Regions from separate parts of the Homo sapiens genome. Here region 1 is linked to region 2. The links are contacts of gene promoters, found by promoter capture Hi-C in human tissues and cell types (Jung and others, 2019). All regions are on one chromosome and are shown on one strand. The core of a region is centred on a gene start or on the middle of the fragment in contact, and the rest is flanking DNA. Distances in the headings are between cores, read along the strand shown.

Region 1 (6,103 bases), core at 2,784-5,283, 78 kb after region 2:
CCTCTCTTATTTCATTGAGCAGTGGTTTGTAGTTCTTGAAGAGGTCTTTCACATCCCCTGTAAGCTGTATTCCTAGGTATTTTATTCTCTTTGTAGCAATTGTGAATGGGAGTTCACTCATGATTTGGGTCTCTGTCTATTATTGTTGTATAGGAATCCTTGTGATTTTTGCACATTGATTTTGTATCCTGAGACTGCTGAAGTTGCTTATCAGCTTAAGGAGTTTTTGGGCTGAGCCGATGTGGTTTTCTAAATATACATTCATGTCACCTGCAAACAGAGACAATCTGACTTCCTGTCTTCCTATTTGAATACCTTTATCTCTTTGTCTTGCCTAATTGCCCTGGTCAGAACTTCCTATACTACGTAGAATAGGAGAGTTGAGAGAGTGCATCCTTGTCTTGTGCCGGTTTTCAAAGGGAATGCTTCCAGCTTTTGTCCATTCAGTATGATATTGGTTGTGGGTTTGTCATAAATAGCTCTTATTATTTTGAGATATGTTCCATCAATACTTAGTTTATTGAGTGTTTTTAGCATGAAGGGTGTTTAATTTTATTGAAGGCCTTTTCTGCATCTATTGAGATAATCATGTGGTTTCTGTCATTGTTTCTGTTTATGTGATGGATTACATTTATTGATTTGTGTATGTTGAAATAGCCTTGTACCCAAGGGACAAAGCTGACTTGATTGCGGTGGATAAGCTTTTTGATATGCTGCTGGATTCGGTTTGGCAGTATTTTGTTGAGGATTTTTGCATCAATGTTCATCAGGGATATTGGCCTGAAATTTTCTTTTTCTTGTTGCGTCTCTGGCATGTTTTGGTATCAGGATGATGCTGGCTTCATAAAATGAGTTAGAGAGGAATCCATCTTTTTCTATTATTTGGAATAGTTTCAGAAGGAATCATACCAGCTACTCTTTGTACCTCTGGTAAAATTCGGCTGTGAATCCATCTGGTCCTGGGCTTTTTGTTTGTTTGTTTGTTTTGGTTGGTAGGCTATTAATTACTCCCTCAGTTTCAGAACTTGTTATTGGTCTATTCAGGGATTCAACTTCTTCCCGGTTTACTCTTGGGAGAGTGTATATGTCCAGGAATTTATCCATTTCTTCTAGATTTTCTAGATTTGTGTGTGTGTGTGTGTGTGTGTGTGTGTGTGTGTGTAGGGTTGTTTATAGTATTCTCTGATGGTAGCTTGTATTTCTGTGGGATCAGTGGTGATATCCCCCTTATCATTTTTTATTGTGTCTATTTGATTATTATCTCTTTTCTTCTTTATTAGTCTGGCTAGCGGTCTATTTTGTTAATCTTTTCAAAAAACCAACTCCTGGGTGCATTGATTTTTTGAAGGATTTTTGTCTCTATCTCCTTCACTTCTGTTCTAATCTTAGTTATTTCTCCTCTTCTGCTAGCTTTTGAATTTGTTTACTCTTGCTTCTCTAGTTCTTTTAATTGTGATGTTAGGGTGTCGATTTTAGATCTTTCTTGCTTTCTCTTGTGGGCATTTAGTGCTTTAAATTTCCCTCTAAACACTGCTTTAGTTGTGTCCCAGAGATTCTAGTACGTTGTGTCTTTGTTCTCATTGGTTTCAAATAACTTATTTATTTCTGCCTTAATTTTGTTATTTACCCAGTAGTCTTTCAAGGAGAAGGTTGTTCAGTTTCCATATAGTTGTGTGGTTTTGAGTGAGTTTCTTAATCCTGAGTTCTAATTTCATTGCACTGTGGTCTGAGAGACTGTTTGTTTTGATTTCCGTTCCTTTGCATTTGCTGAGGAGTGTTTTACTTCAAATTATGTGGTTGATTTTAGAATAAGTGCTATGTGGTGCTGAGAAGAATGTATATTCTGTTGATTTGGGGTGGAGAGTTCTGTAGATGTCTATTAGGTCTGCTTGGTCCAGAGCTGAGTTCAAGTCCTGAATATCCTTGGTAATTTTCTGTCTTGTTGATGTGTGTCTAATATTGACAGTGGGGTGTTAGAGTCTCCCACTATTATTGTGTGGGAGTCTAAGTTTCTTTGTAGGTCTCTAAGAACTTGCTTTTTGAATCTGGATGCTCCTGTATTGGGTGCACATATATTTAGGATAGGTAGCTCTTCTTGTTGTATTGACTCCTTTACCATAAGGTAATGCCCTTCTTTGTCTCTTTTGATCTTTGTTCATTTAAAGTCTGTTTCATCAGAGACTAGAATTGCAATTCCTACCTTTTTTTGCTTTTCATTTGCTTGGTAAGTCTTCTTCAATGACTTTATTTTGAGCCTATGTGTGTCTTTGCATGTGAGATGGGTCTCCTGAATACAGCATACCGATGGGTCTTGACTCTTTATCCAGTTAGCCACTCTGTGCCTTTTAATTGGGGCATTTAGCCCATTTACATTTAAGGTTAATATTGTTATGTTTGAATTTCATCCTGTCATTATGATGCTAGCTGGTTATTTTGCACATTAGTTGATGGAGTTTCCTCATAATGTCAATGGTCTTTACATTTTGGTTTGTTTTTGCAGTGGCTGGTACCCATTTTTCCTTTCCATATTTAGTTCTTCCTTCAGGAGCTCTTGTAAGGAAGGCCTGATGGGACAAAATCCCTCAGCATTTGCTTGTCTGTAAAGGATTTTATTTCTCCTTCACTTATGAAGCTTACTTTGGCTGGATATGAAATTCTGGGTTGAAAATTCTTTTCTTTAAGAATGTTGAATATTGACCCCACTCTCTTCTGGCTTGTAGGTTTTCTCAGAGAGATCCACTGTTAGTCTGACAGGCTTCCTTTTGGGGGTAACCCAAGCTTTCTCTCTGCCTGCCCTTAACATTTTTTCCTTCATTTCAATCTTGGTGAATCTGATGAGTATGTGACTTGGGGTTGCTCTTCTCGAGGAGAACCTTTGTGGTGTTCTCTGTATTTCCTGAATTTGAATGTTGGCCTGTCTTGCTAGGTTGGGGAAGTTCTCCTGCATAATATCCTGAAGTGTGTTTTCCAACTTGGTTCCATTCTCCCTGTCACTTTCAGGTACACCAATCAAATGTAGGTTTGGTCTTTTCACATAGTCCCATATTTCTTGGGAGCTTTATTCATTCCTTTTCATTCTTTTTCTCTAATCTTGTTTTTACACTTTATATCATTAAGTTGATCTTCAATCTCTGATATCCTTTCTTCTGCTTGATCGATTCGGCTATTGATACTTGTGTATGCTTCACGAAGTTCTCATGCTGTGCTTTTCAGCTCCATCAGGTTATTTATGTTCTTCTCTAAATTGGTTATTCTAGTTAGCAATTCCTCTAACCTTTTATCAAGGCTCTTAGCTTCCTTGCATTGGGTTAAAACATGCTCCTTTAGCTCAGAGGAGTTTGTTATTACCCACCTTCTGAAGCCTACTTCTGTCAGTTCGTCAAACTCATTCTTTGTCCAGTTATGTTCCCTTGCTGGTAAGGAGTTGTGATCCTTCGGAAGAGAAGAGCATTCTGGTTTTTGAAATGTTCAGCCTTTTTGCACCGGCTTTTCCTCATCTTCATGGATTTATTTACCTTTGGTCTTTGCTGTTGGTGACCTTTGGATGGAGTTTTTGCATGGTCATCCTTTTTGTTGATGTTGATGCTATTGCTTTCTGTTTTTCATTCTAAGAGTCAGGCACCTCTACTGCTGATCTGCTGGAGTTTGCTGGGGGTCCACTCCAGACCCTGTTTGCCTGGGTATCACCAGCCAAGGCTGCAGAACAGCAAAAATTGCTGCCTGCTCCTTCCTCTGGAAGGTTTGTCTCACAGGGGCACTTGCCAGATGTCAGCTGGAGCTCTCCTGTATGACGTGTCTCTCAACTCCTTCTGGGAGGAGTCTCCCAGACAGGAGGCATGGGGGTCAGGGACCCACTTGAGGAGGCCGTCTGTCCCTTAGCAGAGCTTGAGCACTGTGCTTGGAGATAAGCTGCTCTCTTCAGAGCTGGCAGGCAGGAACATTTAAGTCTGCTGAAGCTGCTCCCACAGCTGCCCCTTCCCCCAGGTGCTCTGTCCCAGGGAGATGGGAGTTTTATCTATAAGGCCCTGACTGAGGCTGCTGCCTTTCTTTCAGAGATGTCCTGCCCATAGAGGAGGAATCTAGAGAGGCAGTCTGGCTACAGCTACTTTTCTGTGCTGCAGTGGGCTGTGCTCAGTCCAAACTTCCAGGAGGCATTGTTTACACTGTGAGGGGAAAACAGCCTACTCAAGCCTCAGTAACGGTGGACGCCCCTCCCAACACCAAGCTCGAGTGTCCCAGGTTGACTGCAGACTGCTGTGCTGCCAGTGAGAATTTCAAGCCAGTGGATCTTAGCTTGCTGGGCTCCATGGGAGAGGGACCCTCTGAGCAAGACCACTTGACTCCCTGGCTTTATCCCCTTTTCCATGGGAGTGAATGGTTCTGTCTTGCTGGCATTCCAGGTGCCACTGGGATATGAAAAAAACTTCTGCAGCTAGCTCGGTGTCTGCCCAAATGGCCACCCAGTTTTGTGCTTGAAACCCTGGGACCTTGTGGTGTAGGTACCCAAGGGAATCTCCTGGTCTGTGGGTTGTGAAGACTGTGAAAAAAGTGTCGTATCTGAGCTGGATAGCTCTGTCCCTCATGGCACATTCCCTCAAGACTTTCCTTGGCTAGGGGAGGGAGTTCCCTAACCCCTTGCACTTCCCGGGTGAGGCAATGCCCCCACACTGCTTCTGCTCACCCCGTGGGCTGCACCCACTCTCTAACCATTCCCAGTGAGATGAACCAGTTACCTCAGTTAGAAATGCAGAAATCATCAGCCTTCTGCATTGGTCTCACTGGGAGCTTCAGACTGGAGCTGTTCCTATTTGGCCATCTTGTCCAGGAATCCCTCGGTATCCCTCTTAATAAATGTACAAGTCAGATAAGAAATCACAGAGATGCCAAACTCTAAAATTTGTTTTTTGATCAATGTTTTAACAATGTGATGTGGTAAAGTAGTATTTTTCAAGCCAGGCTGCTCCTAGGGAGATTTTAATTAATGAAAATATTCAAGCCCTCATTATCGAAGATGATCTGTGGTGAGAAGGGCAGGCTTGGGAGCTAGACGCCATGGGTCTGCATTTCTGACTCCAATATTTATCAGCTATTATTTGGACAAAGTTATTTAAAAATGCAAAACCTTCATTTACTCAGCTATAAAGTGAGGGCAATGATCTCACCTCCTTCAGTAGATTGTTGATTACTAGATGAGAAGTTATCGCCTAGCATGGATCTTAACATGTAAAATCCCTTGGTGAACATATATTATTAGTGGTATTCTCTGTCATTTTATTGGTGTATGCTATAGTGGTGTTTACTCAGCATATGCTATGGTACTGCACACAGAGATGTTAACATACACAGACATTACATGTCAGTTCTTTAAAAAACAAAAACTAGTGTGGAATCCCAGTATCCTCCTTCCTAACAAATTTTACAATTATAATTATGCAAAAAAGGATAGCAGAAGAAGATCTATTTCAAGCTTTATGCAAAAGGAAGTAACCTGGTGGCACATTTGTGCATAATCTGTGATATGTCAGTTATTTGAGAAACTGGGGGGATTTTATTTTGAAAAAATTTTATATAGCATGTATATATACACATAAGATAATTTATATAAGAAATTATTGGTATATGTATATATAATTATATAGCACATAATCTATAAATACATAAATTGTAAAGCTATAAAAGTAATTTATATTTTGATATCAATCTGCAAAACACCTATTATCCACCAATGTAATTAAGCTTCATGAGAACTCTGTGTAATCTCTGAAGCACACTAGTGTAGAGCACTCTGAATCACCCTGGCATATGGAGACAAGCTCAGGCTTTGGAACCACGTCAGCCGGGGTTAAAATCCCGGTTCTCTTTGTTGCTCCCATGCTTTCTGTCCTTTCTGTTTTTGCTCCTGCAGCCCTATATGCCTGAAATGCCTCCCCCAGGTCCCTCGCTGTAACTGGCTGACATCTACTCAACTGAAAAGGCTCATCTTGAGGATTACTCTCCAGGAAGCATTCTGTTATCCCCTCAGGCCAGGTAAGTGTCTCTCTGAACTCTCAAAATATCCCACGCCCATCCCTGTCAGTGCATGTATTGATTGTGGTGCCCTCTG
Region 2 (5,591 bases), core at 619-3,118:
ATTGAACTATAAAAATACCATTCAAAGACAAATAGATCTAAAAATAAAATGGAAAAACATAAACACTAATTCTGTAAATATTATACTTAATGCACAACTGAAACAAAATTTGCCAGCTTACTCAATATCAAAATCTATGAACAGTTTTTCTATTTTATATAATTTCCCTCTCCTCTCTCTGGATCTCGCTCCCCAGCTCATTTTTTCTTTTTTTTGCTCTGATTCTTTATACACCTCTGTTGCCTCTGTGATAAGCAGCTTCAAAGATGGTTCCTAATGCTTTATTGGATAGAATACAACAAAAGCGATGAGGTGTTGCTTCCCCAATTACATTACGAAGCATCCGTGGCTTCCATCTCCAGTGGGTTCACTTGCTGTCTGGCTCTAAGGGAATCCAGATACCATAATGCGGGCTGCCCTATGGTGAGGTTTGCATCACTAGGAACTCATGTCTCTGGGCAACAACCAATGAGGTCTTGATCCCTGCCGTCAGCCACATGAGGGAGCTTGGAGCTCGGAAGTGAATCCTCCTGGAGTCAAGCCTTGATATAGCTAGCCCTGGCAGCTGCTTGACTGCAGCCTTGTGAAAGAGACCTTGGGCCAGAGGCACCAGCTAAACTGCCCCTGGATTCCTGACCCAGAGAAAGTGGGAGATGATGTATTTTTGCTTTTTGAAGCTGCTGAATTTGGGGATAATTTGTTATATAGCAATAGAAAATGAGTAACTCTTTTGTATTCCTCTTTGTCCTGGCTTCCCCATTTTGAGGAAAATAAAGTAAATCAAAGTGTAGAGCTGAAATATTCACATGAAAATAATAATAAAGTTTTAAAATTATTTGAATGTCTTGTGTTGACATTCCAAAATATATGAATTCCAAAAATTTATATGTTGAAGTCCTAACTGTCAGTATCTTAGAATGTAACTTTTTTGGAAAAGGGGTCATTTCAGATCTAATTAGTTAAGATGAAGTTATACTGGAGTACAGTGGGCACTAAATCGAATTGGTCCTATGATTGAGTCTCAGTCTTTCAGTGAGCCTGTACCCCTGGGTTTATGACCTTCAGTTGGCTTTTTTCTTCTGCCCTTATTTGGCATAAAAACAAAGCAGGTGGATCACCTGAGGTCAGCAATTTGAGACCAGCCTGCCCAACACGGCGAAACCCTATCTCTACTAAAAATACAAAAAATTAGCCTGGCGTGGTGGCGGGCGCCTGTAATCCCAGCTACTTGGGAGGCTGAGGCAGGAGAATCACATGAACCCGAGAGGCGGAGGTTGCAGTGAGCCGAGATTTCGCCACTGCACTCTAGCCTGGGTGACAAGAGTGAAACTCCATCTCAAACAACAACAACAATAAACAAACAACAACGATGACAAAAAAAGCTAGAGCTGGGATTTTCCCTTTCCCTGTGTTAAAGATTAGAGTGGTGTCCTCACAAAAAGGGAAAACTTGGATACAGGCACACACATGGGGAGAATAGCATATGAAGAGACACAGGGAGAAGGCAGCCATCTATGGGTCAAGGAGAGAGGCCTGGAACACATCTTTCCTTCACCGCCCTCAGGAGGAACCAACTCTGCTGACACCTTCATCTGGGACTCCCACCCTCCAGAACTGCAAAGCAATAAATTTTTTATTTTTTACACCACCCAGTTTATTGTATTTTGTTAGGCAGCCCTAGCGAACTAATGTACATAGAGTTCTTGAGTTAATCTTCACAAATTACTGCAATAAGGTAGGGTCTTTTGTTATGTAACAATGCTATGAAATCATAGCGTTTTCTTAATTAACTTCCGTAGTTTAAGGTACTAAGTTCTGGACACCACGTGTCTTCTTTCTATAAATACCAGGACATGCTCTGTTTTTCAGCACTCATTGGACTTCAGCATGACTACTCAGTTGCCAGCTTACGTGGCAATTTTGCTTTTCTATGTCTCAAGAGCCAGCTGCCAGGACACTTTCACTGCAGCTGTTTATGAGCATGCAGCGATATTGCCCAATGCCACCCTAACACCAGTGTCTCGTGAGGAGGCTTTGGCATTAATGAATCGGAATCTGGACATTTTGGAAGGAGCGATCACATCAGCAGCAGATCAGGTACCATCTCTACCATCTCTCCAGTGTACTGGATTCTATGAGAAAGGAGGGGGTCCTAGGAGACAGGGCCACTGTCAGGGTCAGTTACACTTTTAGATGATATATGTATCAGAGTAGCCAAGAACCTTTATTTTACAGTTAGAATTCTACTTTCCTCTCAAAATTAGAGCAAGGACTTCCCTAAAAGTAAGAACAAAGTTAAGAAAAGAACAATTTGCTCATTATCAAGAAGCAGCAGACCTTTGAGGAACTGGCCATAAATTCAACATCTTTGTTCCCCTTTTCTGGTACAGATGGAGGATGGAGGATAAATGGGTCAGGGACTAGGTGCTATTTTCAGAGTATTAGTGGCCTTCATGTACTCATGTGCTATTAAGGCTTTGCAGGTTTTCGAATAAATTTATAATCTGAAAACAAATTTAAGTTTTCAATTCCTTGCCAGCATGCATTATATACTTCACACTTCATTCTAATTACAAGATAAAAGTATATGTAATGCATTGTGAGTCCTTAAGTTTAGTGAAGGTTTCAGTTTGAAGTTAATCATACAGTATAAATTGTGGTTTACACAAATATTATTTTAAAAGCTATTGATCGATTAGGTGTAGACCAGGAATACATGAAGTGTGATAAAAGTCATGGATAAATGTGTATTACATATATCTATAAATATATATTCTTTTGTGTTGTTGAGTTAAGGTCTCACTCTGTCACCCAGGATGGAGTATAGTGGTGTGATCACGTCTCACTGCAGCCTTGACTTCCCGGGCTCAGGTGATTCTCCCACTACAGTCTCCAGAGTAGCTGGGACCACAGATGCATGCCACCGTGCCCAGCTAAGTTTTGTATTTTTTGTAGAGATGGGATTTTGCCATGTTGCCCACGCTGTACTTGAACTCCTGACCTCAGGTGATCCACCTGCCTTGGGCTCCCAAAGTGCTGGGATTACAGGCATGAGCTACCGTGACTGCCCTATATTCTTATATATACTAATATTTAAAAGGTTATCAGGAGTTCTGATGTTCTTTTTCATCCTTAGTCCAACTATTTCCTTGAAGGTCACAGAGCTTTTTAAGGTGACTCTCTAATTGGAAGGTGCCCAGGTTAGCTCAGGCAGTACTTGTAGGCATGGGACAGTTCAAGTAACCAGTTTGTGGCTCCTCTTTTTCTGAGAAGCAGGAATCATGTTTGCAGGGGAAAGCTAGGGCAGAGGAGGAAATAAACAGAATATTTAAGTTATTAATCAGTCTTGACACAGGCACAGTCATCAGCGAAAGTTCAAGGAGAGGCTTGGTTCCAGGATAAGCTAGGTTTATAGTTAACGACTGCCATAGGAAACAACAATGGCAGGATTAGAAAATTAAAATGCTTGACTAAGCCAGGTGCGGTGGCTCATGTCTGTAATTCCAACACTTTGGGAGGCTGAAGCAGGCGGATCACCTGAGGTTGGGAGTTCAAGACCATCCTGACCAATATGGAGAAACCCCATCTCTACTAAAAATACAAAAATTAGCCAGGCGTGGTGGCAGATGCCTGTGATCCTAGCTACTTATGAGGCTGAGGCGGGAGAATCGCTTGAACCCGGGAGGTGGAGATTGTGGTAAGCCGAGATCTAGCCATTGCACTCCAGCCTGGGCAGCAGAGCGAAACTCCATCTGAAAAAAAAAAAAAAGAGAGAAAAAAAAATGCTTGACTAGAAGCCCAAACCTCACCATTATGTAACATATCCATGCAACAAACCTGCATTTGTACCCTTTGAATCTAAAATTAGAAATAAAGAAAAGAAAAGAAAAAGAAAAAGAAGTGACAGTGCACTGAAAAAAAAGGAAATTAAAATGCTTTGGAAAAGAAAATAAATTATAAAAATATAGAAAACAAAATAAGATTTAAGGGGTGTGGGGGAAGCCCAAATAGTTGTTACTCAGCCACTCAGCTCCTCAGCTCCTCTTGCAGGCCCCCCTTTGGATTAAGTTGCATTTTTAACAGGGTGCGCATATTATTGTGACTCCAGAAGATGCTATTTATGGCTGGAACTTCAACAGGGACTCTCTCTACCCATATTTGGAGGACATCCCAGACCCTGAAGTAAACTGGATCCCCTGTAATAATCGTAACAGGTAAAGAAACAACTTGTGAAAAATTCACTAGTAAACATCAACTTGATTTACCTGGGAAAACTTTGTTGATGATCATTGCATAGATCCATGATCAATTCTTAAGTTTCAGTATAGCTTATTTTTCATCTACTATGGGTATATTTACTGGGAGAGCAAATATGAATTATGAAGTCACAGAAGTCAGAGCTAGAAAGTAGCTTAGAAATCATCACATTCAGTGTGAACATCTCTGGTCTCTGACTCCTCACCAGTGAACAGAAAAATATTTCCCTGTGTAGGTCTGTGATTTGAAAACTATATGAGTAAATGGCAAAAGAGAGTCACATCAGTTTAAGATTAATAGTTTTCCTTTCTCATTGCTAAGATAGCTGATGAGGTTAATGTAGTAAAGTCCTTAAAGTGTAAGCTGATTGTAATCTAAGAGGTGATATGGCAGGATTTTAAGTGGTTTAAGTCAGGTCTCGGCTACAGAGATATTAAGTGTGGTGAAAGCAGCACTATTAATTTTAATGTAAGGAAACCAATATCTTATACACCTAAGAAAATCATGTCGATTCACATACTTCTTTCTGAATACACATGGCTAAAATTATTTTAGGAATTCCTCTTTTGGAACTATTCTCAAAACCGCACAACGCCAGTTAGAATGGTGATCATTAAAAAGTCAGGAAACAACAGATGCTGGAGAGGATGTGGAGAAAGGGGAACTCTTTTACACTGTTGGTGGGAGTATAAATTAGTTCAACCATTGTGGAAGACAGTGTGGTGATTCCTCAAGGATCTAGAACCAGAAATACCATTTGACCCACCAATCCCATTACTGGGTATATACCAAAGGATCATAAATCATTTTACTATAAAGACACATGCATGCATATGTTTATTGCAGCACTGTTCACAATAGCAAAGACTTGGAACCAACCCAAATACCCATCAATGGTAGACTGGATAAAGAAAATGTGGCACATATATACCACAGAACACTACACAGCTGTAAAAAAGGATAAGTTCATGTCCTTTGCAGGGACATGGATAAAGCTGGAAACCATCATTCTCAGCAAACTAACACAGGAACAGAAAACAAAACACTGCATGTTCTCGCTCATAAGTGGGAGTTGAACAACGAGAATACATGGACACAAGGAGGGGAACATCACACACCGGGGCCTGTCGGGGAGTCGGGGGCTAAGGGAGGGATGGCATTAGGAGAAATACCTAATGTAGATGATGGGTTGGTGGGTGCAGCAAACCACCATGGCACGTGTATACCTATGTAACAAGCCTGCATGTTCTGCACATGTATCTCAGAACTTAAAGTATAATAATAATAATACTAAAATTAAAAATCCCACAGAAACTGGCTGGGTGTGGTGACTC

The links. Contacts are between HindIII fragments. The study calls those that stand out against the background at their distance.
Region 1: a fragment that was not itself captured here is called in contact with the fragment with the promoter of VNN1 in region 2 in 4 of the 25 tissues and cell types used here (H1 embryonic stem cells, liver, mesenchymal stem cells and 1 more).

Annotation. Positions count from the first base shown.
Region 1 is chr6:132,633,552-132,639,654 of GRCh38, reverse strand. No RefSeq gene overlaps it. Among named protein-coding and RNA genes, the nearest start is that of TAAR2, 12 kb to the right of the region's middle. The HindIII fragment of the contact is 4,731 bases long and covers 1,668-6,103 here.
Region 2 is chr6:132,710,332-132,715,922 of GRCh38, reverse strand. It overlaps VNN1 (vanin 1), which reads left to right and starts at 1,868. Exons shown (of 7, transcript NM_004666.3): 1 at 1,868-2,097; 2 at 4,084-4,214. The coding sequence starts at 1,888. The HindIII fragment of the contact is 14,207 bases long and covers 1-5,591 here.